Linked DNA regions of Homo sapiens: regions 2, 3, 4, 5, 6 and 7 are each linked to region 1. The links are contacts of gene promoters, found by promoter capture Hi-C in blood cells and fetal thymus (Javierre and others, 2016). All regions are on one chromosome and are shown on one strand. Each heading gives the region's core, a stretch centred on a gene start or on the middle of the fragment in contact. The rest is flanking DNA. Distances are from core to core; before and after follow the strand shown. Region 1 holds the start of PPID (peptidylprolyl isomerase D). Region 2 overlaps RAPGEF2 (Rap guanine nucleotide exchange factor 2). Region 3 overlaps RAPGEF2 (Rap guanine nucleotide exchange factor 2). Region 4 holds the start of LOC101928007 (a long non-coding RNA gene). Region 5 overlaps RAPGEF2 (Rap guanine nucleotide exchange factor 2). Region 6 overlaps GASK1B-AS1 (GASK1B antisense RNA 1). Region 7 overlaps RAPGEF2 (Rap guanine nucleotide exchange factor 2).

Evidence for each region. The method cuts DNA at HindIII sites, captures the fragments that hold promoters and counts their contacts. A CHiCAGO score of 5 or more calls a contact.
Region 2: a fragment that was not itself captured here is called in contact with the fragment with the promoter of PPID in region 1 in 11 of 17 cell types (erythroblasts, M2 macrophages, megakaryocytes and 8 more); the score reaches 18.6 in erythroblasts.
Region 3: a contact is called between a fragment that was not itself captured here and the fragment with the promoter of PPID in region 1, in 16 of 17 cell types (M2 macrophages, erythroblasts, non-activated CD4 T cells and 13 more). The highest score is 14.3, in M2 macrophages.
Region 4: a fragment that was not itself captured here is called in contact with the fragment with the promoter of PPID in region 1 in 1 of 17 cell types (M2 macrophages); the score reaches 5.2 in M2 macrophages.
Region 5: a fragment that was not itself captured here is called in contact with the fragment with the promoter of PPID in region 1 in 17 of 17 cell types (M2 macrophages, non-activated CD4 T cells, erythroblasts and 14 more); the score reaches 12.9 in M2 macrophages.
Region 6: a contact is called between a fragment that was not itself captured here and the fragment with the promoter of PPID in region 1, in 1 of 17 cell types (M2 macrophages). The highest score is 5.7, in M2 macrophages.
Region 7: a contact is called between a fragment that was not itself captured here and the fragment with the promoter of PPID in region 1, in 17 of 17 cell types (M2 macrophages, megakaryocytes, total CD8 T cells and 14 more). The highest score is 17.8, in M2 macrophages.

What each region holds. Positions count from the first base shown.
Region 1 is chr4:158,721,158-158,725,302 of GRCh38, forward strand. PPID (peptidylprolyl isomerase D) reads right to left here and starts at 2,239. Exons shown (of 10, transcript NM_005038.3): 1 at 2,047-2,239; 2 at 186-326. The coding sequence starts at 2,131. RefSeq lists enhancers at 1,649-2,232, 1,866-2,345, 2,233-2,817. The HindIII fragment of the contact is 3,604 bases long and covers 91-3,694 here.
Region 2 is chr4:159,313,188-159,317,332 of GRCh38, forward strand. RAPGEF2 (Rap guanine nucleotide exchange factor 2) reads left to right here. Exons shown (of 30, transcript NM_001394067.2): 9 at 1,404-1,581. Among named protein-coding and RNA genes, the nearest start is that of MIR3688-1, 190 kb to the left of the region's middle. RefSeq lists an enhancer at 2,730-3,024. The HindIII fragment of the contact is 250 bases long and covers 1,585-1,834 here.
Region 3 is chr4:159,288,432-159,292,576 of GRCh38, forward strand. The region is part of intron 7 of RAPGEF2 (Rap guanine nucleotide exchange factor 2); the gene reads left to right. Among named protein-coding and RNA genes, the nearest start is that of MIR3688-1, 160 kb to the left of the region's middle. The HindIII fragment of the contact is 2,906 bases long and covers 434-3,339 here.
Region 4 is chr4:158,178,409-158,182,553 of GRCh38, forward strand. It overlaps GASK1B-AS1 (GASK1B antisense RNA 1), which reads left to right. Exons shown (of 5, transcript NR_147410.1): 2 at 1,253-1,327. It overlaps LOC101928007 (a long non-coding RNA gene), which reads right to left and starts at 3,817. Exons shown (of 4, transcript XR_007058350.1): 1 at 3,658-3,817; 2 at 2,452-2,530. The HindIII fragment of the contact is 1,646 bases long and covers 1,118-2,763 here.
Region 5 is chr4:159,262,294-159,266,438 of GRCh38, forward strand. The region is part of intron 7 of RAPGEF2 (Rap guanine nucleotide exchange factor 2); the gene reads left to right. Among named protein-coding and RNA genes, the nearest start is that of MIR3688-1, 140 kb to the left of the region's middle. The HindIII fragment of the contact is 4,147 bases long and covers 258-4,145 here.
Region 6 is chr4:158,195,444-158,199,588 of GRCh38, forward strand. GASK1B-AS1 (GASK1B antisense RNA 1) reads left to right here. Exons shown (of 5, transcript NR_147410.1): 3 at 3,345-3,427; 4 at 3,645-4,043. Among named protein-coding and RNA genes, the nearest start is that of TMEM144, 13 kb to the right of the region's middle. The HindIII fragment of the contact is 473 bases long and covers 1,822-2,294 here.
Region 7 is chr4:159,241,606-159,245,750 of GRCh38, forward strand. RAPGEF2 (Rap guanine nucleotide exchange factor 2) reads left to right here. Exons shown (of 30, transcript NM_001394067.2): 7 at 2,169-2,186. Among named protein-coding and RNA genes, the nearest start is that of MIR3688-1, 110 kb to the left of the region's middle. The HindIII fragment of the contact is 1,119 bases long and covers 1,433-2,551 here.

The sequences.
Region 1 (4,145 bases), core at 989-3,488:
CTTAGTACCATAAGTAATTCCACCTCGCACAGCCTAACCTTTACGAAACTGCGTTACTGCCTCAGACATGGACGCTAATAGTACTTTTTAAGCTTCACTTCCTACTTAGTGTTTTCTTCCCCAAATCCTAAAGAACAGGACTTGTCTGTATGAAGAATAACAAGATTAAGAAAATTTACACATACTTCGATGAAAAGGGCATCCTTTGAAATGGAGAGGTTTCCCAGTCGTGTGTCCAATGCCTTTTTCTCCTGTACACAGTGCACGAAAATTTTCCGCAGTTTTGGGTACGATATCTGCAAACAATTCTAAGACAATTCGACCAACTAAAAGAAAAGAAAATCTTGTCAGTATGCAAAACAACCAAATAGACAAATGATAAAAAGAAGGTTGGTATAATTATGGTAGCAGATCAATCATGAATTACCAAGTTCCCCTTTACTGTAATTTTTCTTTTTTGCAATTTCAAGAACACAACACATTGCTACTAACTATAGTCATTATGTTATACAATAGATCTCTTAAATTTATTCCCCCTTTCTAACTGAAATTAGGTCTCTCGTGATCAACATCTACCCAACCCCTGAAATCCACCATTCCATTCTCTACTTCAAGGTCAACTTTTTAGAAACCACATGTAAGTGAGATCATGCCTTGTCTTCCTGTGCCCAGCTTATTTCATGTAACATAATGTCCTCCATATTAATTCATGTTGTCAGAAGTGACAAGATTTCATTATTTTTTATGGGTGAATAGTACTCCACTGTGCACATATATCAAATTTTAAAAAAAATCCATCTGTAGATGGAAACCTAGTTTGATTCCATTATCTTGGCTATCATGAATAATGCTGCAATGAACATGGGAGTGCAGATACCTCTTTGACATACAAACTTCATTTCCTTTGAATATACTCACTAGAATTAGTGAATCTTATTTTATTCTAATATTCAAATTTAGTCTACCTACTGTCATGTATGTATATAAACAGATTTGAAACATTACACTAAGGATCATAACCAATTATAGTAGCCAAAAGATTAGCACCATGTAAGAGATATCATTAAATACAAATAGTTTTAAATCCTGAGTAATTTCTTCAAGAGGTACTGAGAATTTCCAATCACCAAGCAACCAACGGGAGAAAATTAAACAGTCTTTGGGTGGGCGGACTTGCCACGTGTTACGTATACCTGCAGCCTTTGTGCTCTGAGCAAACTGCCTCATGCAACCTCTGAAGCAAAAGCTGTAAAAATTCCTCCTCTAGATAGCAGCTAAGACAGGTGAGATTAAACCTAGCCCTAGCTAGTTGCAACAAACTGAATGTACGTGTAAACGTGTGTGTGTCCTGTACATGCATTCAAACACATTGCCTGGCCAGCAATTCCAACGTGTTCCAGAACAAGGCCAATCCAGTTACAAAGCAACACGCTCCCTAATTCACCAGGCCTTAGGAACTTCTGAGCGGCTATGTAACCTAGGCAACACCATCACTACGTTGAGCGCATTTTCCCAATGGCAAATTAAGAGAAAATGTTTGCTCATCTGAACGGACCTCTAAATTAAGAATCAGTAATAAGGCAAAAGCAATGAGCAAACAAGTCCCTTTAACGTATAAATAACACAGCACGTGCTGATATATTATCTCATGTGGCAAATATAGTTTCCTGGGGCCCAGCAGACGCATATCCCAGGATATGCTTTCCGAACTGTCCCATTGCAAACATAAAATATTTCATGCTAACTTGGTAGTGCAAAGGTGGCGTGGAAGTGCCACCAAATCAGGAGGCAAACCTAAAGGACGCCACAATTCCCGAACTAGAAATTTCCAGAAACTTCCGCACCACCGATGGCATTGATACAAGGGCGCTGGATCGATCTAGCCCTAGATCTCCGGGCCTGCTCCGGCGGACCAGCCTAGGCAGCCATCCCCTCCGCGAAACTGAGCAGTCACCGGCCGGAGCCGCATTCCGCCCTTGGAATCCCCCAAATCCCGGGAACCCCCGCCTCCTCGGGGCTTTTCCGCGAGCGTCAGACTCCGCTCACCTCGCTCCCCTCCGATGTCCACGTCAAAGAAGACTCGAGGGTTACTGGGGTTGGAGGGCTTGGCTTGGGGGGACGGGTGCGACATCTTGACTTGCAGACGTGTTTAGTACGGAATATCAGAGTACCTAGTGGCCGCCCGGGCCGCCCAAACTCCAGAGTCCGTCTCCGCCGGAGACCGGCAGCGACGCTGACCGGCCACTTCCGACGCAAGAACCGGAAGCCATGGCCTGACTTCCGGCACCGCCCCGCTCCCCCGCGCGGTGTTTCAAAGAGCCTGAGCGACTCCGTGCAGCGAACCGCGTGCCCTCCGCCACCTGTTCCTGGCTTCTCATTTAATGAAGTTGCGATCCCAGTTCTCATTATTCTTCTCGCTTGTGTTTCGTTGTCTTTCCCACCCTCGTGGCGTAGAGAGCTTTGGAGTCAACCCCATGCCAGCGTCAGCTCTGCCACCAAGTTGGGTGTGACTTCTCAGAAACTCAGTTTGCTCCTCTGGAAAAAGAATAAAAACGCTGACCTCGGAAGGTCGTTTTGAGGATTAAAGACATGAATCAGTACAATGCCTGGCATAAACTGGTGGTACCCAACCAATAGGAGCCTTATTATTGCCATGTCGTTACAATTTGATCTTCACATTACAATGTAAGTGGTAAGGCTTAGACTAAACGCTCCAAACAGCTAAAGCTGAGAGTCCAGAAGAGAGCACAGTTTTGATTCCTGATAAAACTGTATTTGGCGGGGCGCGGTGGCTCACGCCTGTAGTCCCAGCACATTGGGAGGCCGAGGCGGGCGGATCATTTGAGGTCAGGAGTTCGAGACCAGCCTGACCAACATGATGAAACCCGTCTCTACTAAAAATAAAAAAAAAAAAAATCACCCGGGCGTGGTGGTGCTTGCCTGTAGTCCCAGCTACTCGGGAGGCTGAGGCAGGAGAATCGCTTGAACCCGGGAGGCGGCGGTTGCAGTGAACCGAGATCGCGCCACTGTACTCCAGACTGGGTGACAGAGCGAAACTGTCCCCCCCCCCCCCAAAAAAAAGAAAAACAAAAAAATACTGTATTACTATAGCCCACTTTTCCCTTATGGGGATCTGTGTAAAACATTTACTTTTTACACACACACACACACACACACACACACACACACACACACATATATATGAGGAGAACATAGCCTTGCCTCTTAATAAAGCCTAATTTTGGAGAAGAGTGGCAATTCCCTGTGTAGATGCTTTGCCCTGTAGTTCTATTGGAGCTCAGCAATTTGGATTCAGCCTGAGGCTTACTTTATCAATAAGGCAGGAGATATCCTTAGATGCTTCACATTTTTTTTTCTTATGAGAAAGTAAAAAGTATTGGAATCCAGCACTCAAATAATGTCTCAAAAGCCAGGAGCCTTGTGTCAACAGCAGCAGCCAGAGTGGCTTTTTGGAAGGAAAGACCAGTGCTAATTTTCCCCTATCAGAGCTGTCACCATCCCTCTAGATGAAGGCTCCTGCCCTACTTGCTACCCGGTCTTAGGATAAGTAAAAGTTAGAAGGGTTACGGTTAAAGAACAACTGATTCCTATTCTCAATTTGAATTTGCCTGTGATGTTATACACTGGACTAAGCACGAAAGTTGATGTTAAAAAAGAAAAAAAAAAAAGCAAAAGCTTCAAGTTCTGACTACATGTATACTAGGCATGTTACCAAAGAAAAGTCATTTAATTTCTCTGAACCCTTCTCATTTCCTTTTCGGTAAAGTGCCAAAGAACAGGGTATGAGAATGGAAAAAGATAATGTGTAAGCATTTGCCTTGTAATCTCTAAAGCATTCTTATACACTCTTTTTTAAATTACTGAAAATTAGATGCTATAGTGCCTGAAGTTGTTTTAAAATAACCTGGAGTCAGGTAAGTGGGTTGGGTTGTGGATGAAACATAAGGGCCAGGCAGATGATTGGTGCATGGGAGTTTATTATACTACTCTTCTTTATTTTGCACATTTAAATTTTTTCATAATATTTTAAAAAGTAAAAGAGAAATTACATGTATTACTAGCTACTCATAATAAAACCAATTTGTTGGCCGGGTGTGATGGCTCACGCCTGTAATCCCAGCACT
Region 2 (4,145 bases), core at 460-2,959, 590 kb after region 1:
ATTTATTCTGTAAATATTAAATTATAGGAAAAGGATAGATCCTTATATAAGCCACATTCATATTCAGTGAATGTTTAAAAAGAGACAGATTAGATTGCGATTAAGACTCTGAAGCCAGAATTCCTGGGTTGTAGTCTTGATTCCACAGTTTATCAGCAGCATGACCTTGGAAAAATTATTTCTCTTCACCTAAGTGTTAAGAGAATAATAAAAGTTAATAATGGCTTTTACTTTATAGGGTTGTTTTAAGGATTAGATGAGTTAATAAATACATAGCAATTAGAGCAGTACCTGACACATTGTAAGTATTTAGTGTTACCTTATTATTATTATCAAAGTCAGTATTTTATATTTTTATCTTTCTTTTAAAAAATATTTTTTTCTTAAAAAAGGTATTTATTATCTTTGAGAATCGTATGGGCTATGATTTGAAGTTGAACTTTGTAATATACGTTTTCTACAAAATTAATAATTGTATAAGATGTTTTCAAGATTTTAATATTTCATTTGGAAAAACACTTCTGTTCAAGATTGATGTAGTTAATATTTAATTGAATTCATTTTTACTATGCTTAAGTGATAATTGAAGTCTAGGTATATAATGTCAAATAAGATCTGTATGATATATACATACATATTGCTGAGATGATAGTCACAAAAGGCTACATGGTGACCTAGAAAGGATAACTGTTCTAGGATTGAGCTAGTTCAACAAAAGAGGCCATCTTGAAATGTGTGACTCCAGTGACTTAGAAAATTTGCAGGTATCTTGATAACTTGAAGTTTAGTGATGTGATTACCTGTGTTGATGAATGGGAAGAAAGAGTATGTTGCCTTTACGCGTATGGTCTCCTATAGTGTTTCTCGATTTATAGTTTAACAGTGGTCATTGGGATAATCCAACTAATTGTTAATGTTTCGTTTGCATATTTATCAAGTTACCTTTGATTTGTGGCTCATTTTTCCATAAGGACTGTCTAATTGGGGTAAAATGGTCCAGGCTTCTTGGCATTAATAAATTCACACCTATTCTGCAAAAGGAATTGCTCAGAATTGTCACCCTTAAGCTGTTAGCCTAAGCCATTCTCTTTGAAGAATGGAGTGAAAACAAATACTTTTTCTTCTTTATTCTACTATGTTTCAAATGCCATATGACAGCTAGGATAAGAAATCAAAATTACTGAGATAAAGTCGTTATTCCTGACCAAAAATTTAATAGGAGGTGGAATCACTCATATTTTGTTAAAGTAATTGTTACATGTAGTTTCTGGTGCATACATAGTTGTTGGATGGAAAAATAAATATAACAAGCATTATTTTGAATGAGGCTTGCTCTTGTTTCTTTGGGCCCCAAAGATTTATTTACTTAAAATAGTTTTTAATTTTTGTGTGTGTGTCTTAAGGCCACAGAAAGCGAGGCTGGTGATATGGACCTGAGTGGGTTGCCAGAAACAGCAGTGGATTCCGAAGACGACGACGATGAAGAAGACATTGAGAGAGCATCAGATCCTCTGATGAGCAGGGACATTGTGAGAGACTGCCTAGAGAAGGACCCAATTGACCGGACAGATGATGACATTGGTAAGCTTGAACAGGAAAATGAATCTACGAGCAATTAAAAAGATTTAGTGGCAAAATTGTCTGATGAAATAGAGCCCAAGACTAGTAGGCTTTAAAAACTCATTAATTTATTAATTTCCTTTGTATAAACAGTAGTATTTGTTGGACAAAAATTGGAAAAAATCAGGTTTACTCAGTCTTACCTTCAGGAGTCTACAAATAATAATGTGAATGAAACTTCTTAGTAAACCCTTTCCACATAAACCCTTTCTTAAGCTTAGTTTATGACAAAAAAAAAAAAAGTTAAAATGAGCCTTTCAAGCAGTATTACTTCTATTAATTTTCTCGTGAGCACTGTTTTTATTAAGCTCATGTTTTCTGTATGTAAACATAAAGGCAGTTGGTAAAATTGTCACAGTGATTTGCTTCTACTCTGGTTTTGTGTGAAGACGCAAGTGGGTGGAAGGAGACAGCAAAATGTCAGGTTAGTGGCATATAGGCTGTGTGATGGTTGAGACTTTTTTTCTGTCTTTCTTTTGCTGTTTTTGTCCTTTTTTTTTTTTAATTTTTATTTTATGTTCAGGAGTACAAGTGCAGGTCTGTTACATAGGAAAACCTGTGTCATGGGGGTTTGTTGTATAGATTATTTCATCACCCAGGTTTTAAGCCTAGTACCCTGTAGGGACCAGCCCCACAGGGTCGGTGGGTCTCTCCCCATGTGCAGAGACGAGAGAGTGTAGAAATAAAGACACAAGACAAAGAGATAAAAGAAAAGGCATTTAGGCCCGGGGACCACTACCACCAAGTTGCGGAAACCGGTAGTGGCCCCGAATGCCAGGCTGCACTGGTATTTATTGGATACAAAACAAAGGGGCAGGATAAGGAGTGTGAGTCATCTCCAATGATAGGTAAGGCCACTTGGGTCACGTGTCCACTGGACAGGGGGCCCTTCCCTGCCTAGCAGCCGAGGCAGAGAGAGAGAGGAGACAAAGAGAAAGACAGCTAATGCCATTATTTCTGCATATCAGAGACTTTTAGTACTTTCACTAATTTACTGCTGCGATCTAGAAGGCAGAGCCAGGTGTACAGGATGGAACATGAAGACGGACTAGGAGCGTGACCACTGAAGCACAGGATCACAGGGAGATGGTTAGGCCTCCGGATAACTGCGGGCGAGCCTGACTAATGTCAGGCCCTCCACAAGAGGTGGAGGAGCAGAGTCTTCTCTAAACTCCCCCTGGGGAAGGGAGACTCCCTTTCCCGGTCTGCTAAGTAGCCGGTGTTTTTCCATGACACTGAGGCTACCGCTAGACCATGGTCCGCCTGGCAACGGGCATCTTCCCAGATGCTGACGTTACTGCTAGACCAAGGAGCCCTCTGGTGGCCCTGTCTGGGCGTAACAGAAGGCTCGCACTCTTGTCTTCTGGTCACTCCTCACTATGTCCCCTCAGCTCCTATCTCTGTATGGCCTGGTTTTTCCTAGGTTATGATTATAGAACGAGGATTATTATAATATTGGAATAAAGAGTAAGTACTACTAACTAATGATTAATGATTTTATATATAATCATGTCTATAACCTAGATCTAGTATAACTATTCTTGTTTTATATTTTATTATACTGGAACAGCTCATGTCCTCGGTCTCTTGCCTCGGCACCTGGGTGGCTTGCTGCCCACAGTACCCATTGGTAATTTTTCCTGAACTTCCACCTCCTCCCACCCTCTAACCTTCCGAAAGGCCCCAGTGTGTGTTGTTCCCCTCTGTGTGTTCATGTGTTCTCATCATTTAGCTCCCACTTACAGGTAAAAACATGTAGTATTTGGTTTTCTGTTCCTCTGTTAGTTTGCTAAGGATAATGGCCTCCAACTCCATCCATGTCCCTGCAAAGGACATGATCTTGTTCTTTTTATGGCTGTATTGTATTCCATGGTGTATATTTACCACATTTTCTTTATCCATTCTATCATTGATGGGAATTTAGGTTGATTCCATGTCTTTGCTGTTATGAATTGTGCTGCAATGACTTTAAGTGTACCCAGAGGTTAAAAATTTAAGTAGCTTTATATCCACCTTTCCATCATAGCAAGAGTTGGTTGTGTAGTAATTGTTTTGGATTTGAGTATGCCTCCCAGACTCTGCCTTGTTTCTTCGAACACTGGAAATGAGAGCAACTTCCGTTGAGAGTCATCCTTCCACGAGATTTCCAGGGTCCATAGCCACCCTTGCCTGAGCCTTGCTTGTCTGTTGTACCACTCCCCCAACTCTTGGGCCAATACATATTTGAAGGGCAATTAAATGAACTGAATCTGTTGGAATTGATAAAGGATGGTGTGGAGTGGCTTGTTACATGAGTTTGAGTGACACAAACATGTATGAGGAAAAACTTTCACCATTTCAGCTATATACATATTCTAGGAAATTAAAGGCAAAAAAAAACCAAAACCTTAGATTAGACATTCAACATTTAATTGAAGTAATTTATGGGAATTGCTAACTCTTTATAGATGAATATTGTATGGTAATTATTATTTATTCATTCAGCTAATGTGGGTGAGCACCTTCTATGTACCAAGCAGTTTTCT
Region 3 (4,145 bases), core at 637-3,136, 570 kb after region 1:
TTAGGTTTTGAAAGGCGATTTTTAAGTTTGTTGTCCAGATGGCATACCTCACTCCATTCTAACTTGTCTTCCTACTTCCATTCTAACCCCTTACAAGCCATTTTCCCCACCCCCTGCCAGAATGATCTTATAAAACAAAACTGGGTCTTGTTAACTTCCTGTTTAAAAAACCCAGTGACTTCTCATTGCACTTACAGAGCCTACTTTTTGGTAGGCTTAATCCCTACTGCCTGACCCCATTTGTACCACTCAGCCTTTCTCACGCCTTACCTTCCAGTGCATGAACTCCTCAGAACCGTCAGATTCTGAGTGCATGTTTTCTCCCTCAACATTCTCACTCTTTACCTTCCAGTCACCTTGAAATTGTTTCTCGACCATTCCTAGGTTTATCCCACCTGAAGGTCTTTACTCTGGATATTCCTTCTGTCTGTAAAGCTTTCCTTCCACATCTTTGGCTGGATCCTTTGTATTTATTCACCTCTCACTTCAGATGTAATTTTCTCAGAGCAGCCTTCTCAGATCACCCAGTCTTAAATAGTATCCTCTCCATTCCCAGCCATCACCATCTATTACATGCTCTTCTTGTGGTATTGTCTCTACAGTACTTACTGATAGCTGAAATCTTTTTTTAAAATTTTTTATTGTTACATATTCCTCCTTTCCCCTTCTCCCCTCAAGCCCCTCCTCTCTTTAAGGGTGTAAGTTTCAGGGAGCAGGGATTTTGCTAATCCTAGTCATTGCCATATCACTAGTTCCTATAACAGTGACCGGCTTGTTACAGGATGTCAGTAAATACTTGTTGGATAATTAAGTAGATGAATGAATCTTATGGTTCTGAGTAACTTTATATATCTTCATCTGACAGGCTTCTTGTTGAGATCTATGATAGGAAGTTAAAAATATGTTGAGTTCAGAAGTTTTGTCATTAATTTTTTTGATGCTGGCTTCCAGGAAGGCTAAACTAAATTTATTGCATAACTACAGTTGCTGTTCATTGTGTTTTAGTTTTATTCTGGTGATCTTACCTATAATTGCTGATGGAAGGGGGTGACTATAGAGCTGGTAAGGAAAAGAACATTGGGATCAAACAGTCCCTGTTCAATTTCTCTCAGCCTCAATATCTTCTACTTTAAACTAGGTAGGGTTACCAGTTCAATGATCTGCTCATTAAATACTTACTATACCTTAGGTACTATATGAGAAGCTAGGAAAAGAGTGATGAAAAAGACACACCTAGAGAGGGCATTGGATTATTAAATCAGCAGCTACTGTAAAGGTATTTAAGTTCTGTGACAGGCAGCATTCTGGGTATCACAGGAACATCTTACAAGAATTTCTAACTTCAGGAGGAGGGTTCAGAGAATTAGCCAGGCCAGGGGTGAGAGTGTTCTTCCCGGAAGAGGGAACAATGAAGACCCAGGAGGAGATACAGAGTATCTCGCTGTATTTAAAATAACCAGAAATAGATTTATATATTTAGTACAGAGGCTGAGGGGAAGAGAAGTGAGTGTGAGAAGATCAAAAGGAGAAGACAGTGGGGTGCAGTGGTTAGGAATATAACTTTTTCCAAAGGGAAAGAGAAGCCACTAAAACATTTTAGGCAGGGGAGTGACAGGATCAGGTGTGTATTTTCCTATCGTGTTTTAAAAGTTTACTTCTGGCTGCGACATGAAGAAGAGGGTGTTACAAGAAGCAAGATAGGACAGTGGTAGTACAGTGGCACCACAGTGAAGTGGGTTCATATTTGTAAATCCCCTCTCAGAGTGCTGTCACACATAGTGGGAGCTTGGTCAATTTTTTAAGTTCTGGGTTTTCCTAAGGTGAATTGAGGCTGTGTAACTTCAAGGTTATGGAAGTTAAACTTTTTGTATCTAAAGGCATTTTCAAAGTATTCCTGCTTTTGTGTATGTGCATGCATGTGCACTGACACCACAGATTTTATTTAACCAGTCATCAGGTTCTCTGAATGGATTTTAATGAAAGCTACTCTGTTTCCCTGATTTCAACCTAGGATGATACATCAGTATGCATACACATACACACTTAACAGAAACATTTAGAGAAAGTAGCTGAAGTTGAGGAAGGTAAACCACAGCTTAATACAGCAATAGAATATTAAAAGTTTGTATTAATTTGGGAAGAATGTACTTTCTAAGAGAGTTACTCAACTGGTGATGTAAATCAATCATGGCAGGTGACTGAGAAAGTCATGAAAAGTGCTGGAGCATTGGCAGAAGTGAGGGGGTCTCTTTTAGGTAATGTGTGCTTGACGATGTCATAGTCATTCAGACTATTCATTTAATGGCATGTGTCTAAGGTTTACAAAAAAAAAAAAGATGAAGGAAAAGAGAAAAATCTATTAGACTTCTTGCAGTTTATGAGTATATATTCCTGCTGGCCCTAGACAGTGAGTAATGCACCACAAATGTTCAGTCAGTTCTTGTATAGTGCCCTCCCGACAGCCAAAGCAATGAGATTACCTGGCATGCCAGGGTTGACACATGAAGCCTTTGAAAATAAATGTGAAATTAAATTCTTATCATTGAAATCCTTAGAAATAAATCCTAACATGGATATCTTTGTCACAGAAGTAAAAGGAAAAATTGATAGACACATAACATGAATACCCAGTGTTTTTGTTAGCAACTTAAGAAGGGTAACATAATTATTTTTTGTCTTAAAGATTATTGTCTAGCTCAGTTGTAATACCCGTCACTAGAAAAGGAGTACCTGTGGTGGTGGTTGTTGCATAAAATCTAGAAGCAAATTTTTAGAGGTAGGATCTGAGATGTCATTTAAAATCAAGGTAGTTTCCTGTGTATGTGTGAATATATACATCTGTGTGTGTGAGGATTGGGTGGAGATTAGTAATTATTTTTATCATTTTTTGAGACAAGGTTTCACTCTGCCATCCAGGCTGGAGTGCAGTGGCGCAATCACAGTTCACTTGACTTCCTAGGCTCAAGCAATCCTCCCACCTCAGCCTCCTTAGTAGCTGGGACTACAGACGTGTGTCATCACACCCGGCTAATTTTTGTATTTCTTGTAGAGACAGGGTTTTGCCATGTTGCCCAGGCTGGTCCCAAACCCCTGGACTCAAGCTATCCTCCCACCTCAACCTTCCAAAGTGCTGGGATTACAGGCATGAGCCACCATGCCTGACCAGACAATTTGCTTATTAAATACTTACTGTACCTTAGGCAGTATTTGAGAAGCCACACAGTACATAAAGTTTCTCAGTTGATAAAGTTATATAACCAGTGTATCCACAAATGATAACTTAGAATAGATGGAGTTTCACAGTTTTGAGTCACTATCCATTGTATATATATCAAGACAAGCTTTAGTGCTGTTGTTTTTTTTTTTATGTCCTCTTGATGTAAGTTGTAATGAATATCTTTTTCTGTTAAAGTTATGTGGAATTACTGTTAATGTTTTATTTTTCTTATCTCAAAAGTAATTCATATTTATATTTAAAATTTTAGAAAATGTAGATAAGCAGAAACAAATTTTAATTGTCCATAATCCTACCATGTAATTATAGCTATTGTTAACATTTTCTTTATACCCTTCCATAGTCTTTATTTTGTATATGTGTGTAGAATTGGTTCACGTTAAAATGAGGAAAATCTTTTGTGCAACATTACCACCGTTGCTGATATTTAAAATGTGTTGAATTATTGACTCGTACATTTTGAGCTCCCAAAACCCTTCAGTGGCTTCCCATCTCATTCAGGGTAAAATCCAAACTCTTTACCATAGCTCCCCACGTGATTTCACCCCTGAATATCTCTCTGCCCCAATCCCTCTCCTTGTCAGAGCTTGTACTGACCTAGCTATTCCTAAAACATGCGAACGCCACCCTACCTTGGGCTTTTGCTCTTAGTGTGTTTGTTGCTGAAATGCCTGCTACTCCCATGTGCTTCTGCAGGGGTCAGGCCTTCATTCCATTCATATCTTGTACTCAGATGTTACCTAAGCAGGGAAACCTTTCACACCCTATATCCTGGATACTTAATTAATTTTTAAATTACCACTAAGTGATGTTCTTATTTTTTTGATGGGCTTCCCCCAACTTCCTACCCACTCCCCAACACAGACACACAAATACTAGGATATAAAGTCTATGGAGTCAGAGTTTTGAG
Region 4 (4,145 bases), core at 691-3,190, 540 kb before region 1:
AAGACATCCATGGGAGAGGCTTGTGTGTGGTAACCAGAACTGCCTGGGTTATAAGTATATGAACTACAAGACTAGGCATCCCTAAGACACAATAAGTGCTTTTTGGAGCAGTGCTGGAGTTCTTGTTCTACACAGGAGAGGGTAAAAGTCAGTGCAGTTCAAGTCACTCCTGCCAAAGAATGCTTGGTAGCCATGGGCTAGTGAGACCTGGAGAAATGCACATTGCACAACAGTTTAAAATGTATTGAAGACCTACTCAATGCTTGTCACTAAAGCTGGATTCTGTGGGGAGTATGCAATGTCTAAGGCACTGCCTGGACATTAACTGAATGAACAAATGCATGAATGAATGAACATATTAAGATGGTAAAACACATCCCAAGGCCAGTGGTTCTCAAAGTGTGGCCCTGAACCAGCAGCATCAGCTTCACCTAGAAATTTGTTAGAAATGAAAATCCTCAAAACCCACCGGAGACTTATGGAATCGGAAACTGGAGGACAGTCTTGTTTCAATACAGATATTGAAACAAGCCCTCCAGGTGACTGCCCTAGTGAGAAGCCCCAAAAAGAATGGGGCAGGCCAGGAGGAAGACAGAAAGATGCCAAAAGAAGAAGGACAGAAAAGCAAAAAGTTGGGAGGTGATTCAAAACAATATTTGCAGTTTATTTAAGGTCGTTCTATTCCTTTTGCCGTCTTTATGAGAGTTCCATTTCCTTCCTGATATTTTACCCTTTGGATCAAAAACACAGAATGTGTTAACATCACATACCCTGCCCAGCCACCCACTCTCACCTACTCAGCTCTATAGATTCAAGCCCCTTCTCAAAGCAAGTTCACAGCATGTAGAAACCGGAAAAAGAAGGAATTTGAGAGAGACTACAGCTCACAGCCCATGGAATGAAAACCAGGAGCACCCATGGCTGGGTGTGGAGGGACTGCCTAAGGAAAAACACCAGAGAAAAATCAATCCTCAACAGCCCATCACCAGTTATGAATCCATAAAGACTCCTTTTATAGTAAAATCACACTGTTTTCCAAAAGGCAGTCATCGGGTTCCCATGGTCATGTAACCTGTAGCATAGCCAAAAATTATAAGCCTAAAAGCTTTTGGTTAGAAGCTTGGAATGGGTTCCGAAATAAAAAGATGAAAAGATACCAAGGAGTATAACACAGGAAAAAAAAATTGAATATTTTTATAAGAATGAACATGTCGTTCTCTAAATATAACACACTCCAATTATTTTTCCACAGGAAATGACCAGTGCTTTGGTTAAGAATGCACATTATACTGCAGTTCTTTGGGGAATGAAGCCACCCTTGACTGAGGTAATCATCAGTTCAAAGGCAACTCCTTGTTTTATCTTTGCACTAATTGCTTAGAGAAATAACCAGACAATATAATTTATGACAACAAATCTGCATTTAACTGAGTTAACGAATTTGTAAACAAAAAGATTCCTATCTCAGGTAGGTGCTTTTGGCAAGATATTTAATTTTGCCCAGTTTCCTCATCTGAAAAGCTAAGAGTATTATATCTAGTACACAGAACGGTTCTAATAATTAAATTGGATGCTATATGTAAAGCACTTAGCACAGTGCTCAATATACTGTAAGATGTAATTGCTCATTCATTATTTTCTCTTTTCTTGCAAGGATGATACTAATGGCTAGGCACTCTCTAAAGAGATGTAAGACACTGTTGGTAAGACTCCTTGATCAACACATGATTTCAGGTTCAAGAAAAAGTTGTATTATTAAGTTACTAATGCAGCAAATTATCCAGAATTTGCTTCACTATCTTCTTTTATACTTAACAAAAGACTTAAAATATAATCAGGACTGTAGTCTGCATGCTACTTTGGATTCAAATCTTTGGCAATTTTTGCCTTTGAAATTTAGAACTAGTCTATGGTAACCTATATGAGGCTATAATGAGGTAAGTCATGGCAATGTAATTGAAATGCGGGGTATCATAATTGAATACTTGTTTTACCTTTCTTAATAATGGCATCAATCTCATAGAGCTGGTGTGAGGATTAGATGAATTAATACATGCAAGCCCTTACCATGCCAAAAAAAAAAAAGTCAGCTTTGTCATTATCAGGTGGGGAAAGACAGACCTTAGAAATATTCATTTATCACGGTCAAAAGGAGATTCAGAGTTGGTCATGCCCATTTATACTTTGATCAAGGGAGAGGTCACCCAATTATTGAATGGATTTAGACAGTTCTCCTGGCAGGTATCTCCTTATTATGGAGAAACCTGTAATCGCTTATTAGAGACCGAAGTATTTGTTGTCATATCTTTAGACTCCTCTATTATTCAATTTTTTTCATTTAAAATATTTTTGGAGCAACTATCATGTGAGAGACATTGTGAAAACACTTTGGAAGTAGCAGTTAAAATGATATACAATGGCCTAGCAGTCAAGGGACTTACAGGATCCTACCTTCTAGGCTGGACTCCCTTCTCAAAATTTCATTTCTATCCTGTTCTCCACCTTCTTCCTCATCTGCCACCCTGAGAACCTGCCCAAACCAAACAGAAATGTCTAGTTTCAGGTCTCAATTCTTCCCATTCTATCTGTCTCAATATAATTAAGTAGACCATGCCTACTTACCTTAAATATGTCAATTCTAATCATGCTAAATTTGTCTACCAAGTGACAGTATTGGACTGCTTTGGGTAGTTTTATAGATAATTCATTTTCATTGATAAATAATTCACCTACCAATCTGTCATAAGTTTCAAACTGAACCAAAGCTTATTTTCACTTATTCAATTATTGAATCATGGAAAAAAAGACATTCTTCTTTTCGTTAAATAAGAAAAAATGCTTTACAATTAATTGAATTTCAGCTAACAGGTGGATAGATTTCTTTCTAAAATATATAGCTTTGTAAAATAAAAAAGTTTAATAAGTTGAGTTTGGAATTTCTGCAGCCAAAGCATATAAGTGTCTGAGAGGCTTGGTGAACATAAGTTCATCACGAAACATTTTTACTTCTTTTCAAGTTTTCCACAGAGAGCACAATTCAAAATTAAAATGTATAACTTTCTGTTTCAAGCAGTATATATTGTCAGGCTGGAAACTCTCAAAGGCCATCTTACCTAAAACCTAGACCCAGAATAAATAAGGAAAAAATGCATATAATCCATTGTTTACAAATTTCCTAAAAATGAAAGATTCTGAAATTTAAAACTTCCATAAATGACATCAAGGTATCTGCGGTTAATATTAGAAATCACAAGCATACAAAGAAAAAAAAAACACAAAGAGAGAGAGAATTTTTGGAATTATTTGAATCCAAACATAAATATAGATAGATAAATATAAACTGTTTAAAGGAAGACAAAGGGAACATGCAACAAAAGGTTTTAAAAATGATTGGGTACACATTAAAAAGAAATCTTAAAATAACATTTAGAAATGATAAAACTGTTCAAATTAAAATTCACTGGATAAAATGTTGGGCCCTGGAGTCAACAGTGTAGCTTACATTTAACTAAACCTCCTACCAAAAATAAGTTTAAAAATTGGAAAAATATATATATATAAACAATCTTCTGAAGGCATTGGAGAGCCAGTGCAAGTAATATTGAGCAGCTAAAATCCTTGAGAAAGGGAAGCACACAAGATGTATTCAACATTCACCTCGGAATTTTCCTGGGGGCATTTTCCAAGTTGTGGTGAAGGCGAAAAGAGCCCAAGAAGAAAGCAGGAGTTTCACACGTCAGAGGAGACAAAGTCTGGCGTTTCAGGACGCCAAAGGAGCTGTGATTTGAGGAGCAAACTATTGAAAAAGACAGGAAGCTAAGAGAGTGTCCCCAAATCTGCATCCTAATTTCCCTCAAATTGTGGGTAAATTTCTGACTTGTGCATGTACAAGGCAAGCCTTCAAGATATGTAGTGGGAAACAGCAAACAGAAAGCTTGAATGCTGAGCAGAGATTTCAGCAGCTGAATGGCACTGAGGAGTTAGAGATTAGAATTAAATCCAGAGGGAGCGTGCTAAACCTAGGTCCAGGACTTGGGCAAAGCTACTTTCTAAGATTAATGGTCACATCCTGTAAGTAGCAAATTAAAAAGGTCAAGTATAACAAAGCTTAAAACTAAGTCTCAACTGGATCAAAGTCATTCACT
Region 5 (4,145 bases), core at 1,081-3,580, 540 kb after region 1:
TCATTGTGCTCATGCAACATATTAATCCCAAGGGAATATATTACAGTCAAATTAGTAATAAAGATAATATTCTTTTACATATGCGGTGTTAATGTGTGAAATATTAGTGGGGGGGCCTTGTTCTACAGCCTCGCCCCTAGAAAAAGCATGGAAATAATTCACAACCACTGTTCAAGGACTCCACCTCTGAAACCTTGAGCAGAGGTTTGTAAGTGAAGTCTGGCCTTTTTAAAAGATAGATTCTAGGGAATGAAGTAAGCTTTGTTAAATCTGCTGCTAAAGTCTGCCCGTTTTTCAAGTAAGTGCATTTTTAAAAGCCCCACATGGGAATTTCTCATGGACTTACAGGCTTCTTTGTTTTTCTGCATGTCTCCATCTCATGTCATCTTTTAATCTTTCCCTTCTAACATGCTCCATGTGAATGTTTCTTATAGATAGTTGCCACATAATTTTCGTATATTTCTTATAGATAGTTGCCACATAATTTTTCAATTACAAATCAGATGCCACATAAACAGTTTGCCGTCAGAAACTTTTTTTTTTTAACATTTCCTTGGAACGTATCTGTGGAGTAAATCATGGTGATCTTTTTGAACTCCCAGTTAGGTTTTTCTGATACTGAACATGAACTCAACAGATTCTTTGTGTTTCTAAAGACTGTATTTAGATTCACTTAGATGTTTAGTTAGCATTTCCTATGTGTCAGCCATTGCATTGGTTTCTTTCACATTTTATTTCATAATTAAATTATTCTTAATAATGAACCAGAAGTGCCATTTCACTTTATGAAAGTAGAAAAATGAAATTTTAGCCCAGATTTCCTCTGTGACTGCTTTGGGTGGGGTGTGTCAAGGACTTGTGTGAGGTATACCCAAAGATGAAATAGATGACGTGAAAATGTAAGATTGAGTTAAAATATAAAGTTTATCAGATAATCAACTTTTCTTTTAAAAGAAAATGCACTATTAATGGGGGATGTATTGGCTTTAGGAAAAGAGAAGTAAAACTTCTGACCATATCTACCATCTTTTATTTTGCATTGGCTTAGTGCTTAATTAGTTTGATGTACTCATATAGAAAATAGCATTTTAAAATGACATTTTTGGGGGGAACAGTGAAACACTAAAAATCCAGTTTGTAAAATTTGTTGTTTTCTCGTATCAAAGAATGACTTCTTTCTGCTATACCCACAAGTTTTCCCCAGCCTCTATGGTTTTTCCTCTGTGGTAGTGGGGAGAGGGAATATTTAACTATTAAGTGAAGTAAGTGGTATTAAGAAACTTAGAATTCTATTTTGCATTCTTCTATACTACTAACTCTATAATCTTATACACTTTATTTTTCTATTAAAGATAAGTACATTATTCTCTTGATTCCCTTGCGTTTTGATGAAGTTTAATTAAATGTTTGTAAAGCACATTGAGATCTATGGTTAAACACTGTATATGTTCTAAGTGTGATTAATCATTACTGAGAACAGACCATTTTTCTCAATTTCATAGTAATTAGAAAGTGAATACTTTAGGTGGAAAAAAAAAGAATATAATGATATTAAATATAGCCTGGAAAGCCTTTGCATTAAGTAGTTTCCTGAACTATATAATCTCCATTTTTTTGGAGTGTTGTTACTGATAATTTGGAAGTCATTGGATGTTATTGACAGGGTAGAAAGTTCTTACATGGTTCTTTTTCTTAACAAGATCTAGTTAATGCTACTTGGTAATGGTTAAGGAATGGGGTAAATATAACCCAAATTAGAGTGAACTTCAAGGTAAGTGTGATTTTTTCTTATTTGTATAAAATCTATAATATGGGTTTCTCCTAAATCCTTTGTTTATATTTCTTTAGCAGTGTTTGGCGTATTATAACCTGCCATAATTGTGTTTCAACATACAAGATAGTGTGGATAACGAAATTTCTGTATTACAATTATGAGTTTTAAGATGTGTAGGTTGTAGGCATGGAGCCAGGCTGAGAGAGAGATCATGCCAAGTCTTAGCACAGAAAAGCATCAGTGCCTAAGGATGTGTGATTTTACTTCATCTATAAGGTTTCCCGGTTAGGTTAGTTTCCTTCTTGAGATAAGTCACACATTTTCCAGAGAGAGGCAAGCAATTGGTAACCTACATATATAAAGTCAGATACCATCAGCATGGGGGTAATTTGACTTAACCTTGAGAGGAGTGTTTTGGCACATGGATATGTGTTTTGTGGGACACGGGCCAGATGGAAGGTGTAGAACTTGATTGTTTAATCCCTGAGTTGCCATTTACTTTTTTTAAATTGTGATAAAATATAAGTAACATTAAAATTTACAATTTTACACATTATTAAGTGTAAAAGGCCAGTGGGATTAAATACATTCCCATTGTTTTTGCAACCATTACCGCCATCCATCTCCAGAACTTTTTTGATCTTCCCAAGTTAAAACTCTGTGCCATCAAACAATAACTCCCCAATCCCTCCTTCCCCCAGCACCTGTCACCCTCCATTCTACTTTGTGCCTACGTGAATTTGACTATTTGACTACTCTGGTATCTAGAGTAGAGCATTATATATTATTTGTCCTTTTGTGACTGTCTTATTTCTAGCTTGATGTTTTCAAGTTTTATCCATGGTGTAGCATGTAATAGAAATTCATTCCTTTTTAAGGCTGAATAATGCATATACCACACTTGTATGAATATCATTCATACATTTTTATCTGTCGATGAACACTTGGGTTGCTTCTACCGTTTGGCAACAGTTTACTTTTAAGTCGTTAGTTATATCTATTACAGAAAAATATTTGGACTTTTGACAGAAACTAGTCTAGAGGATTAAATGGGGTCTTTCTAGTGCCCTTTCCCAGTCAGTGGAAGGTTCACTCACTCAACAAGAACGTGAGTGCCTACAGTGCTTGGTGCGGTGAACACAGGAGTACACACAGACAGATATGGCACCAGCCATCATGGAGGTGAGAGTGTAGTGGAGGAAGCAGACAGTAACTGCTTAAATACTCTTGGGACTACATGCAAAATTACAACGGTAGTAAATGAGTGCTTCAGTGAAGGGATAAACACTAACATGAGATTTCTGAGGGTATTTCACCAGTTTGTTTTTGGGAGTGGAGGTGGCATCAGTCAGGAAAGGAAGGAAGAAGGAAAGTTTCAGGCAGAGGAAATAACATGTGCAAAGGCCCTTTTGTCTATGAAGGAGGCAAGAGCAGCCCCTGCAACTTGGGAGTGCAGAGAGTGACCATGAGCATGGTGTAAGTCTGGAAAATGTATAAATCTTGCAGATCATGATAAGAGTTTTGGTCTTTATGCCAGGAGCAGTGGGAAGCCATGGAAGTGTTTTGTTTTCATTTGTAAAAGGAGCTTAGTGGATGAGGGCAAAATGATCAGGCTTTAGTTTTTATAAGATATCAGGAGGTGGTATGGTAAATAGGTTGGGTGGATGGAGTTAGAATCCAGACAGTTCCTTAAGGAGACTTTTGCAGTTCTCAAGGCAAAAAATAATGATTGGAGTGGGATGATAACAGCAAAGACAAAGAGAAATCTAAATTTGAGAAAAATTAGAGAATGTAATAAACAGATGTTGTGATGGATTGATCATGGACAGAGATGTTAAGGAAACTCTTAGATGTAGAAATGGCATAACAGGATCACTATGGTTCATCATGTAAGTATTCCATGGGATGAGGAATGGTGAAAACCAAAACAGATTGTTGAGAGATTTGGTTGGGAAGTGGAGGAAGAGGAAAATACCTGGTCTGGAGAATGATTCTGTTTTTGTTTTGTTTTTGAGATAGGAGAGACCTGCACATTTAAAAGCTGGTGGGGAGGACTCCGGTTGTGGGGCAGAGGTTAAGCATATGTGGCAAAAGAAGGATAATGGGTAATGTAAGAAAAGGGGTTGGGGGGATGGGGAGAAGGATCCAAAAGAGTGATGTGGTGGGAATGGTTGCCTTTAGATATGAGGAGAAAGAAGGAAAGAGAATAGGGTGGGTACAGTCTTTGGCAGTAGTCAAGAAACACAAGTCAGCAAGCACTGACAGTTCCAAAGTCAATTATTAAAAATGCTACATTTTCTGTGTCTATTTTCTATTACATGTGCCATTGATAGATAAACCTGATTGTGAAAAGCTGACAGTGTTTCAGAAT
Region 6 (4,145 bases), core at 808-3,307, 530 kb before region 1:
AAAATGTGTGTTCATCAGGACTCTTGATTGCAAATGAGAGGAAACTCATCTGCCTTAGGCAAAAAATGACTTTTATTGCTGCACCGAATCCAAGAAAGAATTAAACCAACAAACAATGGTATAGTGGACTCTGGTAGCTATAGTGCTGTCTTCTCAGAATGTATTACAATATCCTTTATAGTAACTGTACCCTTCACTTCTCATGTTTTCTGTAAAGCTGTGTCTGACTCTGACTTATCCACAGACACAGAAGTAGCATATGAGCTGGGTCTAGCCAGAGTGATTGGTTCAAAGGTGGTCATGAGACCTAAACTACACCAATCAGGAGCCTTCATTAGACTTTTCCCCTACAGCCTTTGTCTTCGGGGTCATCCTTTAGGAAGGATGAAAAGACACTGGAGCAGCTTGCAGCCATCTTCCTCAGTGCCCTAGAAAAAGCATAACTGCATGAAGTCCAGTTGAGACTAATTCAAAAGCTAAAATAAGCAGAAATGGGAGATATATAAAAACAGAAAACTAGCAGTCCTGAAGTGCCAGAAGCATAAATAGAGGCCTGGTTACTGCAGCTATTTGATTATATTAGCTACTTTGATGTCCTTCCCAATTATATAAGAAAATGAATACTTTTTTTCCTTCTTAGTATAGTTAGCAAGGGTATCCATAATATAAAGTACAAGATTCTTCATTAATACCTGTTGAAAAGATAGCCTACTGAGCCCCAGGAAAAACTAGATCTAGCCACCAGAATGTCACCAGAATCTAGTTTTCTACCTTTCATCTGTACCTGTCTCTGGATGTCAGTTTTATTCTTTCTCACTGCAGACTGTTTTCATTCGTATAGTCGGAAATGTGACTACAAACAGCTCCCAAGTTTTACTTCTGATAGGTTTTATCTCCGAAGGGAACTGCCTTTTATTTTCTGTGCTTCCAATTTCAAATATTCTAAGGAAGGATTGTAACTGACCCATCTTGTGTTACATAATGGATCAAACAGTTGTAACTAGAGTCTTAAAATACTATGATTGGCTTAGCTTGGGCCAGGTTGACATTCCTGAACCAATCAAATGGGAGCCAGGGTGGTGGGCTCATGCAAGAAAATGGCAATGCTCATGGAAGCTGTAAAATTAGACCAGGGAGAGAAACAATTCTAAGAAGAATAGAGGTTCTATTTCCAGAAGAAGGACAAATGTAGCTATAAGTGCCTCTTGTAGGAAAGATGGTATTTTAAACATGTTGAATTGTTGAATTTGAGACCCCATGGAGGATCAAAAGGAGGTCAAGGAAATGCGGCCAGTTGAAATTATTACTCAAGCCTGCAAGAGAAAATTTATGCATTTATCTGATTTTGATGAAAAAGATTATTTCAGATTATAAATTTCAAATTCCATATATGGTTTTACCCCAAATTTACCTAGGTCTCTAGGTTTCAAAACAACTTTGCACATGTAAAATGATTATGCACTGTAATACAGTAATTGTCAATTAAGAGAAAGGGTTGTGAATCACAGAGGCAAGACCTTAGGAGAAAAAAAATCCTGATCTATGTTTCTCCCCTATGAGGAAAGAGACAAAGCTATGGACTAGCAGAGCCTGAAGACCCCAAGATTTTTGGTCTAAGAAACTGTAGTATTGCAACTGATAAAGGGAAGATATGTCTAGGGCAGGTTTGGGGTAAGTTTGAGTTGTCTCTCAGACGTCCAAGTGGAGATACTGAGTAAGGTATTAGATATATGGGACTGGATTTCAGAAGAGTGATCTGGGAACTCCAAAATTAAGAGGTTAGGAATAAAAGGAAGAGCCATCCAAGGAAACTGATGAAGAAGCTTTGAGAGTAAAGGAGAATAACCAAGGTAATGTGGTGTTCTAGCAGCCATGTGAATGCAAAACCTGAAAGAGAAGGGAAAAATCAATTGTGACAGATGCTGCTGAAGAGTGACACAAATAACGACAGAGAATTAACCATTAGACTTAGCAAACTGGCTGCCACTGGTGATTTTGACAGTTTCTATGCAGTAAGAAGAGCAAAAGGCAAGAGTTACACTTTAGCCACAAATGCCAGCCGACAAGGCAGAAATTAGATGGGTCGTTGTCCTGGAAACTAGAGGATTTATGAGACATAGCATCTAACATCTTAGGACTCTGATTCATCTATGTTCATAATGCCCTGAAAGCCCCACCCCTTCCCTCAGACACAAGGACACTACCTGAGGGAGATAACTCGGGGGGTTGGAGGGCTGTGTAATAAACTAAGCGTTGTTTGTGTTTTACTTTTTGCCAAGGCAGACTATTGATAAAGCTTCTGCCTAAATTAACAGATCAAACTAAGCTTTAAATCAAAGTTAATGTTTTTTCTTCTTACCAGCAGGTGTAGAGAAAGAACAAATCAACTATGACAAAACTAATAAAACTATATTTTATCCTCATGTTGGATGTGTTACCTGTGTTAAATCTTTAACCCTCATGTGGGTCAAATTTTTCTTATGTTTTCACTAGTAAACTTCCCATATCAATTCATAGCTTATGCTTGATAATTTTTTCAAGCATATCTGATTTTTTCTTACAATCATTAATATTTGACAACTGTTAAGCTGTATCTTACTGGTGATTTTGGTTCATGAAATTGAATAATATCCAGGTAAAATCCTAAAGGTAAAAATCAGGATAAGTTTGAAAATGGGTCATCCACCTGAAAAGTAGAAGAATAATGGGAAGAGAGTCAAAATGAGAGGACTCAGGAGTTAGAAACAAAAAGAGAGAGAGAGAGAGAGAAGGGGTAGTGGATGAAGCAGGCTTAGATAATTTTTGAAAGTGCATGTAAAAAGACACATTACAGTTTTCACCTTCTATAGATACTTATTTGCATGTGTATTTCAGATCTCATTAAAGTTTCAGAATAAGGTGCATATCTCACAATATTTTGGAAAGCATATTAAGAACTAATAACACAAGCACTGAAATCAGAGAAAATTTGGTTTAAGAACTAGCACTACCACTTATTAGCCACATGGATCTGAGCAAGTTACTCTTTGAGACTCAGAATCCTCATTCATAAAATGGAGAAAATAATAGTATGTAACTCACCAAGCTGTTCTAAGAATTGAACAAGATGATGCAGATAAGGCTCTCTTTGCAGTGCCTTCCCAAATAAAGGCTCAATAATTATTAGTAGTTATGGTTAGTGTTATTATAGATCATTGAGAAGTCTTTCTTTAGAAGCCTTTTCCATCAGTACCTTTTTTTTTCTTACTTATTTCTCCAGCCCTCTTAGGGCCCTTGAAGAATCTCATCAATGATACTCTCACCAGCACCTTCAATTACCTTTCTCCTCTGTATTTTCACCAAAGGTATTATGCCAACTCTCACCCTGTGAATCCACTGACTGGGGAACATTGTTTAAGAAAATCACATGGCTGTGCCAACAAGCAAGGTAGGAACGGCCATGTGGTGACCTGTGGGCTGAAGTTAAGTGTTGTGGTTTGATCATTGTGTAAGGTAGAATCAGAGCTGGATCTCAAAGAATGTTGACTTCATTTCTTCTTCCTTTTTTTTTAATTAGTTGATTTGTTTGGTATATTTATTTACTTATATATTTTTTGCTTTGGGTTTTGGTTTTGTTTGCTTTAAGTTTTGGGAATTCCTTACAGGAGACACGGCACAGAAGACAGAGGCAGAAGCAGCTTTATTGAAAAACAGAGCATGAGTAGAACGACTTCAAATCCCATATGGCACCACAGTGAGAAGTAACTTCCTCTGAGCTTCTTAGAGAATCCAACAATGTCCTGCTTCCTTGGGGAGCTGCAGCCATGGGCACATGGGAATAGGGCTTCCACCAAGAGTCCCGTCAGTCACAGCAACAGGAGGTCTTCCTCAGACAACTTTGATGATAGTGGTTGTTAGCCAGAGCAAGCTAGAACCAGAAAGAAAAACTATGAAGATGCCACAGTGGGAGTCTGAGCACCTTGAGGCCTCCTGTTGGAAACTGGCAAACCTAACTGTGGGACACTTGGATGCTGAGTTCTGGTAAACATGCTGTCGGAGGCACGGTAATTTAGTCATTAACATTTAAAAACGATCTAATTCTATATACATACTCTGTTGAAGACTTCTTCCAACCACCTTGTATTATAAATTTAAAATATGAAATA
Region 7 (4,145 bases), core at 742-3,241, 520 kb after region 1:
CATGATATGATTAGTTTTTAAAAGACATTGAAATAACATGTCAACAGACTTTGCTAGCTCCTTTATTTCTTAAGTTGTTCTCTGAAGATCAGCTTTGTGATAAGCACATGTAATTGTAATTGGAATATTTTAAGTTGTTTTACCTTAATCTAACATTTTAGCGCCCTCCTGTGCACTCCACCCTTCACTCCCAACCCAAATGACTGCTGTCATCCCTGTTTTTTATTTTAAAAGTAGATATGTAAAAATTACATTATTTTTCATAGCTTTTTATACCTTTATGAGAATATCTCTGAGATTTATTTTTTAATGCAGTGAAGGAGGAATAATTTGAAATAATGCTTTTTAAAATCTCAATGTAAAGATGCTTAGAAATATTTCTAATAGGTTCAAAGATCCTCTTAAAGGCAGGCAGACATAACCCAGTTCATTGTCATTTATTTCATAAATATTGATAAATAAACTGCTTTTTATGTTTGAGGAAACCAAGACATAGATAATGAGTGCTTTGTTCAAGATCTCAATAAAGTCACTTTAAAGCCTTTTTTTTCTTATTCCTTTGTTTTTTCAAGAGCAAAGTCGCTTAGATTCCTGGATATGTCATAATAATGTGAAAGATCATTTATGCATATAATACCATTAAATGAGTGGTTATTTTATGTATAATTAATTTAAAATAAAAATATAAAAAATAAAAATAGATAATTAACAACTATTTTACATTCCCCAGTTGTTTTCCTTTACCTTTTTTTTCTTTCTTCCTGCAAATAAGTATAAATACAAAATGCATGGGAAAAATGTACACAGACTTAAAATTATTTACTCAATTTTTAGTAAGTTTAAGTGATATATCTTATACCCACACTTCATATATTCTATTTCTCAGAGAGCCCTTTTTATTTAAATATTTAATGTGGTTTTGACCACTAGCAACCTGACTACTCCTCTTGCTACCCATGAAGTATTTTAGTTTAACATGGATTTCATAGTTGAATCATTTTATTGAGCTCATTTGGAAAGGACTGCTTTTTCCTCATCACAAAGACATCTTTGTCTGTTGGAGAGACTAGTATTAAAAAAACCATGAAAGGTTTTTTTGTTACCATTGTCCATAAAAAAGGTAATGTTTTTAGGGTTGATGTAGCATTATGGAAGAAGGAAATATGTATTAAAAATAGTTATACATATTAATAGTACAACACAGATAATATTTTAGCCTAGCATAAATATTGCTAATTTTTTTCTGCTTTGGAATTGTTTTTCCAGATTAGTTTTCAGACTAAAATAGTCAGTGGGAGTATGGATTATTTAAAATGTAGCGTTAAAGTTGGTTTGTTTGTTCTTATAGTCATATTTGTCACACTTTAGTTGGGTGGGCCATTTAATAACTGTTCTCTCCCCTCACCCCCAGCGTGATTCCCCCTTTATGGAAAGCTTCATTCAGTTTCCTTACACGGCTCCCTTTTCATTATTTGTTTTAAAATATGTATTTCTTTTATTGTTACAAGTTTTTTTTTTTTAAGTGGATTTTTAAGAGTGTCTTACCTAGCCAGCAGATACTTTTAGGGAAAATTCAATAGTAGGATGAAAAAATTGGCTTGATTACTAATGGATCATATACTGGTTTACTAATGTGTGACATGTGGTATTAATTTTACTAAATGAGTTAAGATTGGCAACAACATGGTCATAAGGATTGCATCCTTTTTTGGGGTGTAAAAATAACATTATAATTTATTATTTATTTTACATAAATACATAATTTTAATGTAGGAAGATTGCAAAATTTTGTTTTGTGTGTATGATACCACATAGTAAAAAGAATTAAATAGAAATTATTCTTTATTACCCCTACGCCATATTTACTTATTCTTAACAGAAATAGTTCTCTTTGAAAGAAATTGGCTAATAGTGAAGGACTGAGGGTGAAAAGTTTATTTAAAAGAATTGCATGATCAACTTCACAGGTGATTTAAAGTCATTGCAAGAGCATTTCAAGTGCATGGCTAAATAACATGGGAAGCATTATACATATAGCTGATTCTATATGATCATTCTTAACTTAATTTTAACATTATCTTCATTTTGGCAGATGTAATATAGCATGTCTGATAATGTTCATCTTTTCCTTTCCTCCTTTATGGCACTCATTTCATTTTGGCTCAAAGGAATGCACTAAATCTCAGGTATTGTAATTTGTGTGTGGTCTTCTGACACTAACCTAAGTTTACGTGTGAATTTGCACTGTTACTAATGAATTTATAATATTCATATGTTTTGCTTCGTCTTGTCCTTCTGTATTTTGCCCTAATTTACTTTGAAATTATCAGTGGTTTGGGTGGTAGAATAGGCTGCTTGATCTGTACAGACCTGGGGATGGATTGTCCATGTTGAAGAAAGAACTCAAGTGCAAGCTACTTATTTTTAAAAATGAATGGAGCACTTAAAAAAATGAATGGAACACTGTCCTTCACTAACCTGCTTTGCAAATAAAAAAATGAAGAGAGAAAGGCAGGCAGACATAAAGGATTTTTTTTCCTTTTTATGTGAAAGCTTATGGGAAATTCATTAGAAATTTACATTTTAAATACTACAGATGAAAACTTTAAAGTTCAGGAATCTCAATGGGAGAACATTTTGGGAGGCCACTGGTAAAATTTCAGTCAGATTTTTTTTTAAAAGGTTGGTCAAAAAGGAAACAAAGTTTAAAATCTCTTGTATTTTCTTATTTGCACTTTATTTTTAACAAGGTTTCTTGCTTTTATTTCATTCTACATTTTAATTGAGGTCTGTAATAATCTCCTTGCTCACTTCTTTGATGCCAGTACATGACTAAGTACTATACTAAGTACTAAAGTACATTACTAAAGTACTGTACTAAGTACTAAAATCTATGATTTTCATTATGAGTTCTTTGAAGATCTAGATTACATTTGGGGTTATCCGGGAATTTTGAGTCAAGGAAGAAAAACTGATTTATCCTTGAAAACTAATTGGTTAAGTAACTAGTAGCATTTTATGCTTGTGTTTTATTGTTGTACAGGGAAAAGATCATGAATAATTTATTCACATTGGGGAAATCTATCATTGATATATCTTTGGCTATTAGAGTAACTTTGCCTAAAAGTATGAATTTTATGTATAATTTTTCGAATTAAAATGAGACAGTTCCTTTATGTTCTATACAAGAGAGTACGTATTAGAATGCCACAGGTGTCATGATTGCTATATTGGTTTTTGGAAGCACTACTAATTTTTAAATGATGTGGTAAATCTAAAACATTTTTATGTAATTTTAAAATTTTAAGTTCACTAAAATAATTTTAAAATTGTACAGAGTTTTATGTACCTCAGTGTTTTGAGCTTTTCTCTGAAAAGAGTACACTTAAAATATATATAACATGATATTTTAAAAGATAAATCAATATGTAATTGATCTTCGTCTTTTTTTAGCATAAATTACCAGTCTAATTCCAACTTAGAACTTGGAATTGAATTTAAAATGCGCACTGAGTTATGATGTATACTTTAATGTACACTTTTTAAAATTAGATGCATTGCAGTAGTTTAAAGTGGATTATAATGATTTTCTTTAGAAACATGAATACTCATAGTCCATGTACTGTGTTTTCAGGACATTTTTCAAGGCAAGTGTATGAGGTTTGCAGAGAGAATAGCATTTTAAAATGCAGTGAGAAAGGAAGATTGGAGATGGCTTTCATTAGCATTTTCTTACATTTTGATGAGTAGAGATTGAGGCCGTATTTCAAATTGCTAAAAAATAAGATTTAGCATGAATTTTCAGTCTTAGAGTGAGTAGATTATAGAGACAGGTAATAAGGTTCCTGGCAGAGGCTGGAAGATTTGGGGTCTGTCACTAAAGAACTATCTTGGGACTTTGGATGGTAATAGTTTACCTTGTCTCCAGGTTCAGAATAGGGCAGGTGAAGAAAAGCTATGTTTATTTTACCCATAGTTTCAAGCCTTCTCTGTATTGATCAGTAATTTATTCTAGAAGTTTGTGTGGGTAGGAAAATCTGAATTCCATATTAAAAATGGAGAGGAGAGGAAGGACCATTTTAACTTTTACCTTATTGGAGTGACGTGGGAAGCTGGCACATTCCTCTTCCATCATCTTCTATTCC